Linked DNA regions of Homo sapiens: region 1 is linked to region 2. The links are contacts of gene promoters, found by promoter capture Hi-C in human tissues and cell types (Jung and others, 2019). All regions are on one chromosome and are shown on one strand. The core of a region is centred on a gene start or on the middle of the fragment in contact, and the rest is flanking DNA. Distances in the headings are between cores, read along the strand shown. Region 1 overlaps ARHGEF7 (Rho guanine nucleotide exchange factor 7). Region 2 holds the start of TUBGCP3 (tubulin gamma complex component 3).

Region 1 (2,700 bases), core at 59-2,558, 1.4 Mb after region 2:
TATATAACACAATGTACATTATGAAAATACTTCATATAATAAAGATCCTGTGTCAGAACCTTTCCACTACAAGCAAGTAAACCCAACTCAAATTGGCTTAAACAAAAAAAGGAAATTATTGGTTCGCACAACAAACAAGTCAGGAATGGCAAGAGCCACAAGCTCAGAACCGGAAGGCTTTCTCCGCTCTCTTTCCTACTCTCCTGAGTGTGCGCCACAGTTTCAGGAACGGTCTCCCTCATCAGGCAACAGGACCACTGGCAGCCCCAGGCCCACACCACCAGGTCAACACCTCAGATGCATCTCGCTGGACCCAGAGCCCACCACGTGAACCAATTTCACAGCCAGTGAAGCAGAACAAGGAGAGCTGTCCAAGGAGCCAACAATAACGGACACAGCATTCTGGCAAACCCACACATAAACATGTATTAATAATTTAGAGCACAAAAATTCAGACAGTCCCCCAGAGCTAAGGGACACCACTGTAGCACTAGGGCCACACAAATGCACGCAAAAGGACACACTGACCAGCTCTATTCCAGCCCAACTGCTTTCACACCACCCTCCCAATACCCACACCAACAAGCACAGCAACCTTAATCAACCCCGTCAGTACTGACACGAGAGCAAAAGAATGCCTCCTGCCTCCATGGTAGCGCTGGCTGATGCACCTCTACGTAGTAGACCCCAAAAAGACCAGACCGGGAAATGGGGAAAGAAGTAGTCGTCTTTTTGCTTCTCCTCACTTTCCACCATCTCAATACTGACGGAGAGGCCTCTGCAATGTGGGACTGAGCGCACACTTTCTGGGCTCACTGAAGCTTTAGTGGTCTGCGTTGCCACCAGTCAGCTCGCCTCCTCCAGGAACTTGAGAAAGTTATTCTTGACACAAGAAATTGTTATTTTTAGCACAGCTCTGGAGTGTGGTTTGCAAAGTTTAAAAATATAATTTTGTCCTATCACTGTCAAATGGAACTTGTGATTTCAGAACAAGAGTAAAAAATGAATCTTAAATAAGTGGTGCTATTTAAGTTTAATGCAAATGGTCCATATTGTTGGGGACATGTGAAAAACAGAAATCCAGCAGTACGTTTTCACTTCCTGGCTTCTGCAGATTTTGTACTTAATCCCACCCACTCCTACACCCCAGGGGTAAAATTAAAGTCTGATGACGGATGCTATCAATTACGGCACTTTCACCCAACATGCACCCAAATGATTTATTTCACTTTAAAATGAAAATCAAATCTTATTCAATTTTGTGGATTCCACTGTATCAACACCCAAACACTAGGACAGAGAATACATCTTCAAAAAAGAAGTAACCAAGTATTTTAGGTAGTTTCCAGGAAGGGGTGAGAGGAGCAGAGCAGGGAGGCAGGAGCACAGCAACGGGAAGGCAGGCAGGGCTCTTCCCAACAAGATGCTCTCTGCCTTCTGCAGACCGGGCGCAACCTCCACACGAGGCAGGGAAGCGCAGCCCCAACAGGCAGGGGAAAGGAAGGACACCTCCCTGCTTAGGACCACGGCATGCTGTGCTGGCCCACACAGCCCGTACCTCAGTGTAGACTGCATGCCAGTTTATCTTACAGGCAGAAAACGAAAACACACACACACACACACACACACACACACACACACACACACACGAGCTCCCAAAAGACAGTGTGACAAAGCTTACAAAGGCAGAACCAAGATCGGAGCCCACCAGCCTGGCTTTGCCCACACCACCACACTGCCAGCCAGGAAAGGACACCAGAGACAGTGGTGTCCCACAGCGGTCATGCAGGCAGATCAGGCAGCACCCAGGGGAGGAGGGGTGGTCTCAGACACAACTCACCACGTACACACACACAGCAGCCCATACAGCCTACACAGGCCCCCAAACTTCTGTCTTCGACTGCTAGGAGCACATGCCTGCAAAGAACAGCCTGGCTGTCGCCAGAAAGTGAGCACATACCACAAAGAAGGATCTGGGCAGATGCAACACACTGGCTTGGGCTAACAGTAAGTGAAGCAGTAACATTTACAGCTATAAAGGCAATGCGCCCATTCCATTAACTTCAAAATGCAAGCAGTTACAAGACTCCAGTTTTGAGAAGTTTCTCAAGATGGCCCACTGCAAACACCTATCTAACTCCCATCCCTCCCAAGGTGCCACCGAAATGAGAGAAAGAAAAAGCTTCAAAAAATTAACAGAGAAAGAACCCGCTGTAGTGCTAAAAAGGGAAAGGCTATGAGCAGTCTAAACAGGGTTTGAGGAGATCCCTGGGGACAGGACGCAGATGGACTCTGAATGACCTAACAGTTCAGAACAGCACTTGTAAGGGAGCCCCAGGAGCACCAAAGACGGTTTTCTAACACAGGAAGGGACACGTGACCCACCTCAGGACTTCAGCACGACAGCCCCTTCTTCCTGATGGGAAGCTCAGCACCCAGACCCCTCTCTAATTAAAAAGAAGCTGCTGCCTGCACTGGATTCTAACCGGAGGTGAAGTGACCCTCTCTAATTAAAGAGAAGCCTGCGGCCTGCACTGGATTCTAACCGGAACCTGATGCACCACTAGGCCCACACAACAGTCTCTGAGGAAAAAAAAAAATGACAATTCTACCCAGAAGCGAAATCCCCTGGGAGCTCCACCACCAGCCTGGACTATCCCCCATCTGAAGTGTGACACAGGAAACAGGTGCAGAGAAAGT
Region 2 (2,700 bases), core at 163-2,662:
TTGGTATAAAGATTAGCAGTTATTCCTTTTGCCAACTGACAGGCTCTAATTAATGCTATTAACTTTGCTTGTTGAGATGATTGCTCCTGGAAGACAAGCACTTTCTATTTCTTTGGGCAAAGACGCTATGGCATAACCAGTGTAATACCTTCCAGCTGCATCTTTAAGTAAGAGCCATCTGTAAACCAAATAACATCAGCGTTAGTGAGGGGGGTTCTTGCATGTCTGTCCTAGGAGAGAGCTGGTCAGGTAAGATGATGCAGTCATGCAGCGTTTCAGCTGAAGGTGGGGGAGAGGGTGGCAGGATTTAGATGACATCTGGACATTGTAGTATGCGGCTGAGAGAATAACTTCATGAGAAGCCAGTTACTAACTGATCGTGTTGAGTGTGATGCAAGTTTAGAAGCGTTTCCACAGAATGCGTATCGAAGGCAGTGAGGGGTGATCGCATCCTTGGTGGTTTGGTTGCTCTTGCAGAGCTGTGATGGTTGTTGCATCATGCAAGGAGACAGTCCTTTAGCTGTAGGGTCTAGTTGTTGACTGTAATACCCTACAAGTCTGCTTTGTCTCCATGTTTTTGAGTCAGAACGACAACAAACGTTTTACTTGCCAACAATTCTGCAACCTGAGCTGGACCCAGGCCCGACGGGCTTTGCAGACAGTCACGTGTGTGGCTGGCCTCAGCTGGGATGTTGGGATAGCTGGGTTGTCCTCCCTCTTCCATTTCATAGGATCTCGGGATCTCTTTCCATCATTTTTCCTTAGGAAGTTGGCCTTTTAACATGGTAGCTCACGGCTCCCAAGCGTGCACCCATGTGTAAGCTTTAACGATTGCACTGAAGTTGGCTTGGTGTAATTGTCTGCTTATCGATCTTTTTCTCGGCAGGTTTCCTGTTCTCTCACTCCGTACGTGATTAATTTATTTTCCCAGGACGTCCCAGTTACCCGGGCCGGGGGGGACCGGCCCGCGCGGCAGTGCGAGGTCGGGCCTGAGCAGGGCGCCTGTTGGATAGCGTAGCAGGTGAACTGCCCACTGCACGTTAACAATCGTAACACCCTGCACCCTTTAAACAGGCTTCTTTTTTCTTTTCTTTTTTAAACAGGCTTCTTTCATCAGAAGTGTGAATCAAACCAATGCCGTTAACACACACACCCCCACACCCACACACCAAATTATGGCCTTTATGGTGCTACCGGCCACCAAGTGCCCTCCAAGCAAGCCCGTCACGCTCGCGACTCCGGGGCCGCTCTGTCCGCGCAGCTCGAGGGCCTCGGGCCACCTGTCGCCCGGAACTTTCTCGGCCGACCGGGCAGCAGCAGGGGGAATGCACCAGACAGGGCCGGGAACGCTTAGGCAGCCGCACGCGCGGCCGCGGCGCAGGGAAGAAGCGGGGCATTGTGGGAAGCGCCCGCGCTTTCGGCGGGTTCCGTTAAAATGGCGCCCTGGTGGCCGGCGGCGCCCGCGCCTTAGCCTGTCAGGAGCAGGGAGCTTGCGGGGCGCAGGAAGGGCGCGGGCCGCGGTCCCTGCGCGTGCGGCGGCAGTGGCGGCTCTGCCCGGACCACCGTGCACGGCTCCGGGCGAGGATGGCGACCCCGGACCAGAAGTCGCCGAACGTTCTGCTGCAGAACCTGTGCTGCAGGATCCTGGGCAGGAGCGAAGGTAGAGTGGCCGGGCGACGCGAAGCCCGCAGACCCGTCCCGGGGGCTGCTCCCTGCGCGTGCAGCCCTAATACGTTCCGGGGCTGGAGGAACGAGGATGCAGGGCCGGGCAGAGGGCTGGGGGACGGGCCGAGGACGTGGGGCCCGGACGAGGGAGCGGAGGGCTGGGGTTCGAGGGTCAGGGAGCCGGGGAGGACAGCGGAGGGCTGGGGGCCAGGACCGGGGCGGAGGGAGTGGAGAGGCCAAGGCCGGGGCGAGAACGCCGGGGCGGGAGGCGGGAGGGCGGAGCCGAGCCGGAGCGGGCTGAGTCACCGCTCACTCCGCTCGCGGGTCCGTCAGTGAGGACGGGAGGAATGCCAGCTCGCCAATTTATCCCCCTTCTCTGGTGTCACGCGCCGTGGGAGGGCGCCTCTGCGCGCCTTTGGGTTCATCCTGTGGGGTGGAGAGAGCGGCTGCGCCGCGGAGGTGGATGCGGGGTGCTGGAGTGTCACATCATCGTCCCTTTTCGTTAGGAAAGTTTAACAGGCTTGAGTATTATGGGAAGAGGGTGTTAACGACTGTAACTGCCGTGTTTTCCTACTGTTTAAAGGGTTGAAGGTTGGATTTGATATAAAACTATTCTGGGAAAGTTCACATGGCGAATATTGTTACTAATAAGCAAAACTAATCCTATACGGTAGGTAAAACCATTTTGTAGTCGAGGTACTTTGAAAGAAATGGTACAGGATGCCATTTCTTGCTCCTTGTTTTGGCCAGGTTGGTGGGGCAGAGAGTGAGGATGCACCATGAGGGAATTTTCTGAGTAATGGAAGCAACTGAGTTACATCTTAAGCACCAAAATGTGGAAAAGAAGTTACTCAATTTTTGAAGGAAGACTTCAAAGTTACATTTAAAGTACTGAGAATGCATTTTGACCTTTCATGCTTCATGACAATTACTGTACATAATTCATTGGATGTTCTATGATAATCTTGGGGCAATCATGAATAATTTTGTGTCGCTATTAAATGAGTGACTTCACACAGTTCTTGCTGCATCTTG

Evidence for each region. Contacts are between HindIII fragments. The study calls those that stand out against the background at their distance.
Region 1: a fragment that was not itself captured here is called in contact with the fragment with the promoter of TUBGCP3 in region 2 in 1 of the 25 tissues and cell types used here (dorsolateral prefrontal cortex).

Annotation. Positions count from the first base shown.
Region 1 is chr13:111,184,911-111,187,610 of GRCh38, reverse strand. All of the region lies in intron 2 of ARHGEF7 (Rho guanine nucleotide exchange factor 7), which reads right to left. Among named protein-coding and RNA genes, the nearest start is that of ARHGEF7-AS1, 38 kb to the right of the region's middle. RefSeq lists an enhancer at 2,382-2,641. The HindIII fragment of the contact is 3,787 bases long and covers 1-2,700 here.
Region 2 is chr13:112,586,865-112,589,564 of GRCh38, reverse strand. It overlaps TUBGCP3 (tubulin gamma complex component 3), which reads left to right and starts at 1,412. Exons shown (of 22, transcript NM_006322.6): 1 at 1,412-1,660. The coding sequence starts at 1,585. LOC124903251 (a long non-coding RNA gene) reads right to left here and starts at 1,379. Exons shown (of 2, transcript XR_007063945.1): 1 at 149-1,379. RefSeq lists an enhancer at 597-1,416 and silencers at 1,482-1,701, 1,732-1,791, 1,822-1,941. The HindIII fragment of the contact is 4,898 bases long and covers 1-2,700 here.